Linked DNA regions of Homo sapiens: region 2 is linked to region 1. Evidence: promoter capture Hi-C in 16 types of primary human blood cells and fetal thymus (Javierre and others, 2016). All regions are on one chromosome and are shown on one strand. Each heading gives the region's core, a stretch centred on a gene start or on the middle of the fragment in contact. The rest is flanking DNA. Distances are from core to core; before and after follow the strand shown.

What was found. Contacts are between HindIII fragments. The CHiCAGO score rates a contact against its expected background, and 5 or more counts as called.
Region 2: a fragment that was not itself captured here is called in contact with the fragment with the promoter of PLA2G12A in region 1 in 1 of 17 cell types (fetal thymus); the score reaches 6.1 in fetal thymus.

What each region holds. Positions count from the first base shown.
Region 1 is chr4:109,727,107-109,733,349 of GRCh38, reverse strand. PLA2G12A (phospholipase A2 group XIIA) reads left to right here and starts at 3,280. Exons shown (of 4, transcript NM_030821.5): 1 at 3,280-3,748. The coding sequence starts at 3,541. It also overlaps a transcript of CFI not described here. RefSeq lists enhancers at 2,286-3,162, 3,822-3,891 and a silencer at 3,152-3,491. The HindIII fragment of the contact is 6,805 bases long and covers 2,895-6,243 here.
Region 2 is chr4:105,709,264-105,715,506 of GRCh38, reverse strand. The region is part of intron 1 of GSTCD (glutathione S-transferase C-terminal domain containing); the gene reads right to left. Among named protein-coding and RNA genes, the nearest start is that of GSTCD, 3.6 kb to the right of the region's middle. The HindIII fragment of the contact is 600 bases long and covers 4,035-4,634 here.

The DNA.
Region 1 (6,243 bases), core at 2,031-4,530:
AAGGCTCTTTTCAAACAGTTTATGCCAAAATTTGGGAAGAAAAGATGGAAGTGGGTCATCTAGAAGTTACGTGAGATGAGCTGGGCACAGTGGCTCATGTTGTAATCCCAGCACTTTGGGAGGCCAAGGCAGGGGAATGACTTGAGGTCAGGAGTTCGAGACCAGCCTGGCCAACTTGGTGAAACCCCATTGCTACTAAAAATACAAAAAATTAGTCAGGTGTGGTGGCGGGCACCTGTAATCCCAGCTACTCGGGAGGCTGAGGCAGGAAAATAGCTTGAACCTGGGAGGCGGAGGTTGCAGTGAGCTGAGATTGTGCCACTGTACTCCAGCCTGGGCAACAGAGCCAGACTCAAAAAAAAAAAATTTATATGATATGGTAAATCAGAGCATGCATCCTGTGTAGTGGCACAAGGCCCCACAGTCAAAAGGGCTCTGTACTTATTTTAATGCTCTGCTGTTATCACCTTGAAATTCTTTTTTTTTTTTTTTTGAGACAGAGTCTTGCTCTGTGGCCTCGGCTGGAGTGCAGTGGCACGATCTTGGCTCATTGCAAGCTCTGCCTCCCGGGTTCACGCCATTCACCTGCCTCAGCCTCCCGAGTAGCTGGGACTACAGGTGCCCGCCACCATGCCCAGCTAACTTTTTGTATTTTTAGTAGAGACAGGGTTTCACCGTGTTAGCCAGGATGGTCTCGATCTCCTGACCTCGTGATCTGCCCATCTCAGCCTCCCAAAGTGCTGGGATTACAGGCGTGAGCCACCGCACCCGGCCATCACCTTGAAATTCTTAATTTTTGAGCAAGGGGCTCTGTATTTTTATTTTGCACTGAGCCCTACAAATTATACAGATAGTCTGTGGTCAGTGCAGATCCCTGGTATTTAACAGCATCAATTAAGAGGAAAACGTAAACCTTGTAATTACTGCAGCAGAACAACAAATATATAATGATTAAATGTGAAAAGAATGTGAAAATAAAACTTAGAGTCTTGTTTTCTACAAAAATGGTGGTGATTCTCATGGGGAAGACAGTGGAAAGATTTGCTTGAGAGAAAGAGAACAGCTGCATCAAGCCAGAAGAACTGGCATTTGAGAATTTAATCCCTAAGGAGAGATCAGACAAAGAAAACTACGTCTGATTCCTCAGAGTATAGGCTGTAGTTAAGGTGTAAGAAATTAGATGAGATCACAAAGAAGTAAATAAATAGAGAAAGTGGGGGAAAGGAGAGGCTTTGGGTCATAACTGAGGGCTGGAACTAGGTTATTTTATTACATTCTATCCTTTCTTTTGAAAGTCTTGTCCCTGGACTAGGGAGTTGTAAGAACCAAGCCTGGTTTAAGGATTCAGGTGGTGGTATCTCAGAGGTAATCTAGTCCAACTTTCATACTTTGGAGCTGAGAAACCAATGTTCCAGAAAGCTAAGACAATGATTCTAAGTTCCCTTTTTAAAATGTATTGAAATGTGTTGTCTAAAAATTAAAAAATAAAAATATCTGTGGTATTTTGTGAAGACAGAGGCCTTGGTTTGGAGTAGATACTGTCACATGACTTCTCACCTCGACTCTTTTATTGTAAAAGAGGAAGATAATAATACCTTCCAGGGAACATTCTTCCCCCTTCTCCATTGTGGTAGGAATTAATCACTGCCCAAGACTCCTGGTTGAGGGGCTGAGTGAAGTGCAGGCAGTCTCCAGCCAGGAGCTACACCGTTTGTTGGGCTACCCTGTTTGTAGGGAGGAATGCCTTTCTATGTTTCTAACTTGCCCAAAGTCTGCATCCTTGTAAAGTAGTGTTCTGAATGTGAGCGATCATATTCATGAAGTGCCTGGCACATAGTAAGCACTCAATAAAGAGGGATGTAATTTTTATGAACTGTGCACTGAACGTTTATTATAAGCTCATTTAGTTTGTAACAAACACAAAAGGCCAAACCTAGAACTTATTGGTAATTCTTATAGAAAGGACACACCTATGCCCAATACTTACTCACTTTCTTTTTTTTTTAGAGTCTCGCTCTGTGCCCCAAGCTGGAGTGCAGTGGTGCAATCTCAGCTCACTGCAACATCCATCCACCTCCTGGGTTCAAGTGATTCTCCTGCCTCCGCCTCCCGAGTAGCTGGGATTACAGGTGCCCGCCACCACGCCCAGCTAATTTTCTGTATTTTTGGTAGAGATGGGGTTTCACCATGTCAGCCAGGCTGGTCTCGAACTTCTGACCTCAGGAGTTCCAGGCCTCCCAAGGTGCTGGGATTACAGGCGTAAACCACCGCGCTTGGTCTGCCCAATACTTTCAACATTGCTCTGGATCTTACTGTAAAATTCTTGGAAACTGCTGTGATACTAAGATAACCAGATATTTACAACTGATACAAAGTACTACTGCAATAGTTATTTATGGATCCCGCACAATGCTGGGGGCAGGGTGGTAGGTACAGAGAAACAAACGTCACTGTAACTATCAAGTTACAAAATCCCTTGAGTAGAAAAACAATGACTTCCTTAAGATTTATTTTACTTTTTACTGTATTTAAGTTTACACTACTGTTTCTTCCTTACCAGGGGAGAATTTTATGATTTTTATGTTGGCCCATTTTCTTTTTCCGGAAAGTCTAAACTAGCATTTAGCTCGTCCTGATTAGAGTCAGGCACCGCCAAGGCATGGGTTGGCATCTTCCAGATCCCGCTCCCCCAACCGCGGCCACAGCAGATCTGGAGGACCGGGAGAGGACGCAAGGAGGAAAAGCCCTGCTCTGCGAGCTGACAGCCGGACTCTGCCCACATTGCCAATGGAACCACGTCTTCAAGCCGGAAACTCAGCTGGACCTCTCGCAGCGCTCTCTGCGAGGGGGCACAGGGGTTATTTTCTCCGATGTTGTCCACACCCAGAAAAGCTTGTCTCTCGGGGCTACTGTGCTGAGCCCCGACTGGTCAGGTTAGGCCACCGGGGTTAGCTCTGCAACTCTTGCTTCACGGTTAACAGCCCGGAGAGCTTTCTTAAAAAATACCGACGCCCACTGCCACCTGGGACAACGTAATCAGGCTCCCTAGAAAAGGGGCTCAGGCCTGGGTACTTTTTAAGGTTCTCTTGTGAACCAGGACCAAGGGTCTTGGGAGGGTGCCGCGGAGACCACGTGGGCATGGAGGCCCCGCCCCCGTTTCCCGCCCCGCGCGCCCCTCCCCCGGTTCCCCGCCCCCCCCAACCCCGCCCCCGCCCCGCCCCACCCCTGCGCGTCCCGCCCCTCCCGTGCGCCGCTGACGCGCCGTGCTCCGGCGCAGGCGCACAGGGGACGGTTGCTGGCCCAGGTGAGCGGGCGCGCTGGTCCAGGTGAGCGGGCGCGTCCCCGCGACGGCGCTGCCTGCCCGAGGCGGTTCACGTAAAGACAGCGAGATCCTGAGGGCCAGCCGGGAAGGAGGCGTGGATATGGAGCTGGCTGCTGCCAAGTCCGGGGCCCGCGCCGCTGCCTAGCGCGTCCTGGGGACTCTGTGGGGACGCGCCCCGCGCCGCGGCTCGGGGACCCGTAGAGCCCGGCGCTGCGCGCATGGCCCTGCTCTCGCGCCCCGCGCTCACCCTCCTGCTCCTCCTCATGGCCGCTGTTGTCAGGTGCCAGGAGCAGGCCCAGACCACCGACTGGAGAGCCACCCTGAAGACCATCCGGAACGGCGTTCATAAGATAGACACGTACCTGAACGCCGCCTTGGACCTCCTGGGAGGCGAGGACGGTCTCTGCCAGTATAAATGCAGTGACGGTGAGGGGGCACCCGGGCCCAGCGAGGGCTCGTGCTTTCGGGGGATTGGGGTGACGGAGATCCTGGAGGTGTGAGTGACAGATGCAAGGCAGACCTTGACGGTGTCCTTCGGCTGTGGAAAAACTTAACCACTGCTAGAATCTTGCCGTTCTAGTGATTGAGCAAGCTGGGTACAAGTTCGCACCACTATTGTTAGAATGTGAGAGGTCACATTCTAACGGAGAGGTGTACCCCCCGTCCCATTTGCATTGCTTCTGAATTACCTTTTCCCCCCCTCAATTGCACCAAGTTGCCGAAGAACTTACTGACGTAGGAATCATGGGAATAGAGTGGAACAGACTGGTTTTAGCTCATTTTTGCTTCTGTAAATTGGATGAACATGCGAAGCAAACTGAGAATTTAAAAACCATGCCGTATTAACTTTCTCTATAATTGATATTAAATGGTTTTTTTTCTGCAAACCCATAGACAATAACTTGCGACCTTTGTACAGACTTTTGGTGTACTCGAGTGTTGAGAAAGGGTTCCGATAACTCTTCTTTCCTTAGATATCAGTGACCCGCCTCCTCCTCATTGTTGGTTAACGTTAATACAGTTATCTTCATTTACTCTTTTAATATTTTTTGAACTTTCTCTTTGAACCTGAGAATTTGTTTGGTGGCGGTATGAGTACTAATCAACTCAGTATTTCAGGCAGAGATAGTTCTTTTGTAGCACATTTTTGAGTGCTTAAATATTTTAATAGGTCAGAAAAATATTGGACTTTTGTTTGGAAATTGAAAATGTTAAGAGAGCAGTTGGGAGATCATGTTTCCAATAAGATTAGCCAAGGTTAGAGTCTCATTATGCTGGCAGCGGAAAATAATCGGGGATCCAGTGACTTCATTGTTGGAACCTGATTGTATAGGTGAACTTAAAAGGAACTGGTATCATGTAAACCTATGATGCCACATGCTGCCTGCAATTTTCAAGATAATTTCTAGTTTTATGTTAATAGAAGTAAAGGATGAACTGTATCTTGTATACTTTAAAGCGCTGAACAGGTGCTGAGACATGTTGCATTGCTTCTTAAATTTGTGCCTAAACGTTACCACCTAAACGTATGCTTCATGAAGATGTTTTTATTCTTGTAGAACTTGTTCGGAGGATTAAGTGCATAATTTAAGGATCAAATAGTTGCCTTTCCTAAAGCAAATGTTACAGTTTTACTTAGTCATTCCTATTCATTATACAAATATTTGAGTCCCAACTGTGCTTCAGATGTTGTTCTAATTTGAGATTCAGCAGTTAATAAAACAGACAAAAATCTCTGTCCGTGGAGCTTGAGTTCTGGTGAGGGAGAGATGGGCAGTAAACTAGTAAATAAGTAAAATTAGGGGAAGTGTGGAGTCTGATCAGGGCAGACGAGGGGCCATGTTGGAGGCAATTTACTCTTCTAAATGGGTTGTTCAGCAAAGGCCTCACTGATGAAAGAATATTTGAGAAGAAATCTGCACGTGGTAAGGGGAGGGAATGTGGTTATTTGGAGAAACAGCATTCCAGACAGAGGGAATAGCAAGTGCAATGGACCTGAGGAGAAAGGCCAGTCAAGGATGACTCTGAAGGTTTTGGCCTGAGCCAAAGGAAGGAAACGGTTGCCATTTACAGAGATAGGGAAGACTTGGAAGGAGTCGTCTTCATAAATTTATTAGTCTAGGGTTCTAGAGTTTATTTACATTTAAAACATGCCTGAAGTTGAATGAATACCAGCCTTGTTAAAATACTGTTTTAGTCTTTTTATTTTATTTTTTGTTAATATTTTTGAGGCAAGGTCTCCCTCTGTGCCCAGGCTAGAGGGCAGTGGTGTGATCATTGCTCCCTGCAGCCTCCAACTCCTGGGCTCAAGCAATTCTCCTGCCTCAGCTTCCCAAATAGCTAGGACTATAGGCCATGCCCCCACTACACCTGGCTTAATCTTTCTTTTTAATCTTTTTCATCTTCTACAGGCTTCTCAAAATTTACTATTTGGAGTTTAGAGGAAGGTCTCTGGCACAAAAAAACACAAAGGAATTTGAGAATTTAAGAAATGTTATATGCCTCAGTGAAAAAAAATTTTTTGTCTTAGTAAGTACTCTACGTTTAACGGACATGTGGTTTCAAGTCCAAGTCACCATACTGATAGATAATTGGATCTCAATGAAAAAAAAAATTAGGCAGGACGTAATGGCTCATGCCTGTAATCCCAGCACTTTGGGAGGCTGAGGCGGGCGGATCAGTTGAGCTCAGGAGTTCGAGACCAGCCTGGCCAACATGGTGAAACCCCGTCTCTACTAAAAATACAAAAATTAGCTGGGCATGGTGGTGCACACCTGTAGTCCCAGCTACTTGGGAGGCTGAGGTAGGAGAATAGCTTGAACCTGGGAGGTGGAGGTTGCAGTGAGCCGAGACCGTGCCTCCAGCCTGGGTGACAGAGCAAGACTCTGTCTCAAAAATAATAATAATAATAATAATAATAA
Region 2 (6,243 bases), core at 3,085-5,584, 4.0 Mb after region 1:
TATAACAGATATATACCATGATTTGTTACTTCTTAAAAGATTATCTGGGGGAAAATTATTTTATATACTGTAAAAGCAACAACTTTTTAACTTACAGATGCCATTTTCTCCCTGAGCTTATTTTTTAAAAATTTTTGTCACTGAGAGATAATTTTAAAACAAAAAGGTATTTATTAAAGATCAAAGTTCAAAGAGTTTTTTTATAAAGCTGAATAGAGCTCTGGAAATATTTTCATTATTAATATAACACCTTTATGCTATAAGTCCTTAAAAACAGTCAAACAAAGTGAGATCTGTAACAACACTAGGGCAAAAAGGACCAACCACACTTTCCAGGAATTAACAGTCTTTTTGAGGAGTTTGCTCTGGACTCACTCTCCTGACAGTAGGAGAGTAAAAAGAAGACTCACCCCTAAGTGTTTCAAGAAAGCAGTTTTGAAAGAAAACATGACTGATTTCATCATTTGCCCAACAGTCTAAAAAATAGTAATTACGAGGCTCATCCTAACACTTTTTAAAAAACTGGAAACAAAGCCATGCTATTTAATAGCTTTTAAGATATGTAGAAATATTCTTTTAAAAAGTATGCCTATATTTGCCACGTTGTAAGGCACATAAGAATATGAAAATAGGATTTTAGACATATTCTATAAACTCTTCTCACTGTTAGCACTTAATAAAATGCTAAATGTCAGCAAAACAGAATAGCAATAACCTGCCCATGGTGATATCTAAAAATTAATGAGATGCCTGAGAGAAAATGCAACAAAGTACTGTTGATTCTTAACGTATTTTTTTTAATATAGATGTTGGTTTTCCCCCTGGGAGATTAAAAATGTTACTTAATGATCTTAGAATAAAAAAAAAAATTACTCTCCTTGAATAATGTCTCCCTATTATGTACTAATATAATTTTTAAAATAAATATTAAATATTTGTAAACCTGTACAAATGTGATGTTTTTGGCTTGCACTGTGCCTTTTTAGAGAGTAGAACCAGTATTTGCTCCAAGTATGCAAATATCACAGGCAAAAAAAAAAAAATCCTTCCTCTTTTTTCTTTTCTAGCTTCAGAATGCCTTAGTTCGCTAATTTTCTGTCACGAGCTTTAAGAAGGTAGGTACTATAGAATCAACTTCTGTCTCCAGGGCTTCTGCGGCACAGCTCTTGTTACTCCATATTACATTCCTGCCAAGCACAGAAATAGAGTAATTTACTCTTTCTCAGCTTTGACAGGTGCCACTCTGCAGAGAGGGAGTGAGAAAGTAGCAGACAAAACCACAAACTTCAGGATATTAAATAGAGTGTGCATCTCTTTCCTGGACGTGCCAATTTGCTTGGGAATCTTGCCGAATGAATAAATGGGTAAAAAGAAAAGATTATGTCTTTGATTTCATTACTCAGGAATGTTCTAATATATTTTTAAATGGTGGAATTAGTCATAGGTTTAATATTTAGGCATTCAGATCTGGTTTTTTTTTTTCACTTTCATTCTAATGAATATATCTTAGCCTTGATAAAACACAGAGAATGAGAGATAAACAGTAAACATATTAAAAACAAGCATACTTCTCCACAGTCCAGAAAAAATAAAGCTTGAAAATTTTGTGATCAAAATTCAAGTCAAGATCTATGGCATTATGTATACATAACATTATATATTAGATAAATTATATATTATATAATGAAGACCAAAAAGTGCATAACTGCTGCAAATGATTAACCTGTGTTTTGTTTTTTGTTTTTTCAAATAAGTTATCTTTGTGACTACAATTTGATAGGAGCTCAACAAATGTTAGGTAAATAAAGTTTTAAATATTACATACATTTTATTGTCCACCTACTATGTGCTAAGCACACAGAACATGTGCATTACTTCTAATGCTCACAATCCTTAAAAGTATTTTATTTCCATTATAGAGATGAGAATTGTACATCAGTCCAAAAGTATTAATTAAATTCATAAAAGATCTTATTTAGAGACATTTAAGAATAGGTATTGTTCTAATATAACAGTACTATTTATAAATAAAATTTCATAAATTGAAGCAATTTTACCAAAGTGAAAATTGTCAGATATTATGTTATTCTAAGCAAGTATGCTGGTTTCAGTAATCCTTGATATAAACTTCCATTCCAAAGGCTGGGTTATTTGACAAGTTTCTGCACTGGATTAAATTCTTTGGCAATTCTTTCCTGATTCCTTTCATTGGCTACTCTGCAGATGTCTCAGTGACCCACAGCTCAGTGTTTTGCTCTCTGCTCAATCCACACTCCATCCTTCGAATACTGGCTTTCAAACTTTTGAGCATGCCACACAATTAGGTATATATTTTATAATGTAACACACAATACACTGAATAAAATAGAAACAAAAATGTCATGAAGCAATACTTATCCTACAATATGGGATAAATCTGATATTTTTTACTCTGTGCTTGTTTTTTTAAATGCTGGTTGTTACTCATTACATTGATTTCCTGACTCATTAATGGGGCACAACTCACAATATGACAGCACTGTTCTGGGTGATCTCCAGTGCCATAGCTTTAAATATGATCTGACTCTTACATGTATATCCCAGCCGTATCTTCTCCTCTAACTCCAGACTACTATATTCTACTTGACATCTCCATGTGGATGTTTTTCTAAACCTGCTCCCCTTCCCTTCGTGTTCTACTTCCTGGTAAAATGGCAACACCAATTACCCAGATGCTTAGGCCAAAAACTCAAAAGTCCCACTCAACTTCTTTTTTTCTCTCTCTCATACCCTGCCATCTCTACCTTTGAAGTATATGCTAAATCCAACTCCTCAGCACCTCTACCACTACCACCTTAATCTAAGTCATCGCCAGTGCTTACAAGGACTACTGCAAAAGCCTATTAACTATTTTCCTCCACTTTCCATAAAACAGTCCATTCTCCAACAACAGGGTGATCCTTAAAAACATAAATCAGATGTCTCGTGCTCAAAACCATCCAATGGCTCTTCAGCACACTCAAAATAAAATCCAAATTTCCTATTATGGCCTATAGGCCTACTGTGACCCTAGCTATCCCTTTCTGACCTCATCTCTTATCCTTCTTCACTCCCTTCCAGCCATAGCTGTCCTTGCTGTTTTTGGAAGGTGCCACTTGAGAATATTTGTACTTGCTATTGCTTTGCCTAGAATGCTTTTCTCCAAGAGATTCACAGGGCTTGCTCCCTCATTTCATTGATTTTTCTGCATAAATATTAACTCAGAACAGCCTCTCCTGACTGCCTGAATTGAAAAAGCACACCCTAGCCTCTTACCTAGCTTCCCTTTTTCTTCATAGCTCTTATCACCTAACACTATAACATCTCCAGTGCTTAATGAACTGAAACTTTAGTTCAAGGAATGAATGTACATATATGAATGTCAGAAATCACTGTCTGAGAGTATTATTAATAACTTTAGTCTTGGTACAATGTGTATCTCATTCTTCATGACACCATTCTTTCTTTTCCAAATTAATAACTCTATTTTAAGGACCAACTAAGTATAAATTAAAATGAAGAAATAAGATCACCTTTGTGAGGTGAATCGGGAAAAGTATAAATGGAATCTAACCAAACTCATAAATAAAGCAAGCACAGAAGTTTTTATGTATACTTATATCCAGGGCAAAGGAACTAAGAATCTTAACTAGATTCCATACATGTGCCTAGCAAGAATATTTATAAAACAAGAATTATAAAGTAATAGATTAGAGCCGAGACTGTTGAGCCAGACCACCTGGGTGCAAATATACTGGTTCTGATTCTTAGTAGCTATAAAAAACTTTTCTGCATATCTGTTTCCTCACTTATATAATAAAATGGAGACAATAATAACTGTACCTACCATGTAGTGTGCCATACAGAAAAAAGCTTGTCACATATTAAGTCCTTAAATAAATACTAGCTACTATTATTTCTTTATAATTTATAACCAAATTCCTTATCAACTGGCACTATTAAAATATGCAAACCTTGATGGGCAAAACCCAAATTATGGTTTATATTTTCAAGCTTCTTTCCATGAAAGGTAAAGGATTTATATTGATTGAAAAGTTTTTCCCAACCAAATACTGAAAAAAAACATATTTGTTACTGAGGCTGAAAGCCAGGGAATCATGAAATGGTAAAATATAAACGTGAAACCCTTAATCCATGTGCATATCAACCTATTGTACAAAATAAGAAGTTCAACACAGTTTATAAGTATGAAAAATCACAAACACTTACTTTTCTTAAAGATTAAAATTTAAACCTGCCTAAATTCTCTCCTACATCATATGTTCAACATTTTGAATTTTATAACTTATCTTGTGTTTTATGCTTTTCATAAAACAACAGTATTTGGCTGAAAATTGTACCCTATTTTATTACAATAATATAGATTTAACCAAAACAAAACAAAACAAAAAAACATGCCCCTCAACAGATAGATAGCAGCCAATTACCTTAAATATTTAGGGTCAAAAACGATAAGAAAAACACTGAGATTTTTTCAAGCTCATTAAATACGTAATATGGGATGCAGTTAAGTCCTAGAGAACAAAAGCCAGTGATTAAAATTAGCTGTTTTCTTATCTGGTAAAGAAGTAGGAAAAGTTTTTAAGTGAAAAGCTTACAGTAACCTTAGCCACAAACGAAGTGTGTAATCTCTCTGGAGAATCAGGGAATCATCTGTTGCCATGGAGTCATAATGCCTTCAGCTAAACCCGACCTCATAATTAACAGTGATCGACAGCGCAAATGGCTAACATGTTACCAAGTATGAAATAAAATTACTGAATTTTCACAGCAAACAATACCTGTGCTTGTTTTAATCTAAATGGTTTCAATATCTGCATTCCAAGTATTTATTCTTTGTTAGAAAAGCTAATTGGATACTCAGTATTTATTTTTATTTAAAAATCACAGATGATGAAACAAAAGCTACAAGTAAAACAAGTTTAAAAAAACAAAAACAGGCCGGGCGCGGTGGCTCACGCCTGTAATCCCACCACTTTGGGAAGCCGAGGCGGGCGGATCATTTGAGGTCAGGAGTTTGAGACCAGCCTGGCCAACATGGTGAAACCCCTCCTCGACTGAAAAAAAAAAAAAAAAAAAAGGAGCCGAGTGTGATTGTGGGCGCCTGTAATCCCAACTACTCGGGAGGCTGAGGCAGGAGAATTGCTTGAGCCCGGGAGGCGGATGTTGCCATTGCAATCCATCCCCAGGCGACAGAGCAGGACTCCAGCTCAAAAAAAAAAAAAAAAAAAAAAATTGATGGGCCCACTACTACAGAAGCTCAAGTTTGAGCTGTGTTTAAATTAAAGCAAAAACACGTAGAAGTGCAAAGTATATAAAATAAAAAGAAATGATGATTCTCAAATCTCATTGACCTTTTCAGTCTTATTTTTGAAGTGAGACCTCACAAAACGATACTTTCAGGTGTAATACAAACACAATTTTTAGTAATGAGTGTGCTTAAAGCAATCCTCTCAGTGGTGTATGCTCCCCATCAGGCAGTTAAAAAAAAAGAAAAAAAAACCCGCATAGCTTAATGTTTATTAAATATGACAGCGAATCACTTAGTTGTGTTATAACAGTTTATTATCATGGATTTAAATGACTATGTTTACATGTTTAAAATTATCACATCACTAGTTCTTGCTAGCTTTTGCATTTTCTCCTGTAAACATTGTTTTTACAGATAAGCTTAGGTAAAATAGAAATACACCACCTTCTTTATCAATAATGTAGCACACAATATATTACTAAAGCTGGCATTTTCTTGATATTCAAGAATTTATGACAAGGAATGGGATCCTGGCATTAAGAATAAAGGGGAAAAAAACAAGTCATCTCATCCCAAAACCAGGTAGAAAGTTGGGATGGGAAGTACGTGTATTAGCAAACGTTTTTGAAACCAAAGCAACTTTCATGCAAATTAAACTTTCTATAGAAGTTAAAAACCCAAGAGATACTGCTGTGATGACAAAACATAAGCAAATGGCCCCAAATGAAGCAAGTCCTTTGGAGTAAATGTTAAGTAGTATTCACATAGAACTGCTTTCTGCAATCAGGAAGGGCTGGAATGGAAAACTCAATGCCAAAGAGAGAAGAGAAGTTAGTGTGACCCAAGAGGTCTTGAAGTAACACTTAACAGCAAATATCAAACCACCCCAACCAACGCCTCCAACTGGAAGCTGCCCCATTTCTCCATCAGCAGAGGAAGACATGAGGGACTGG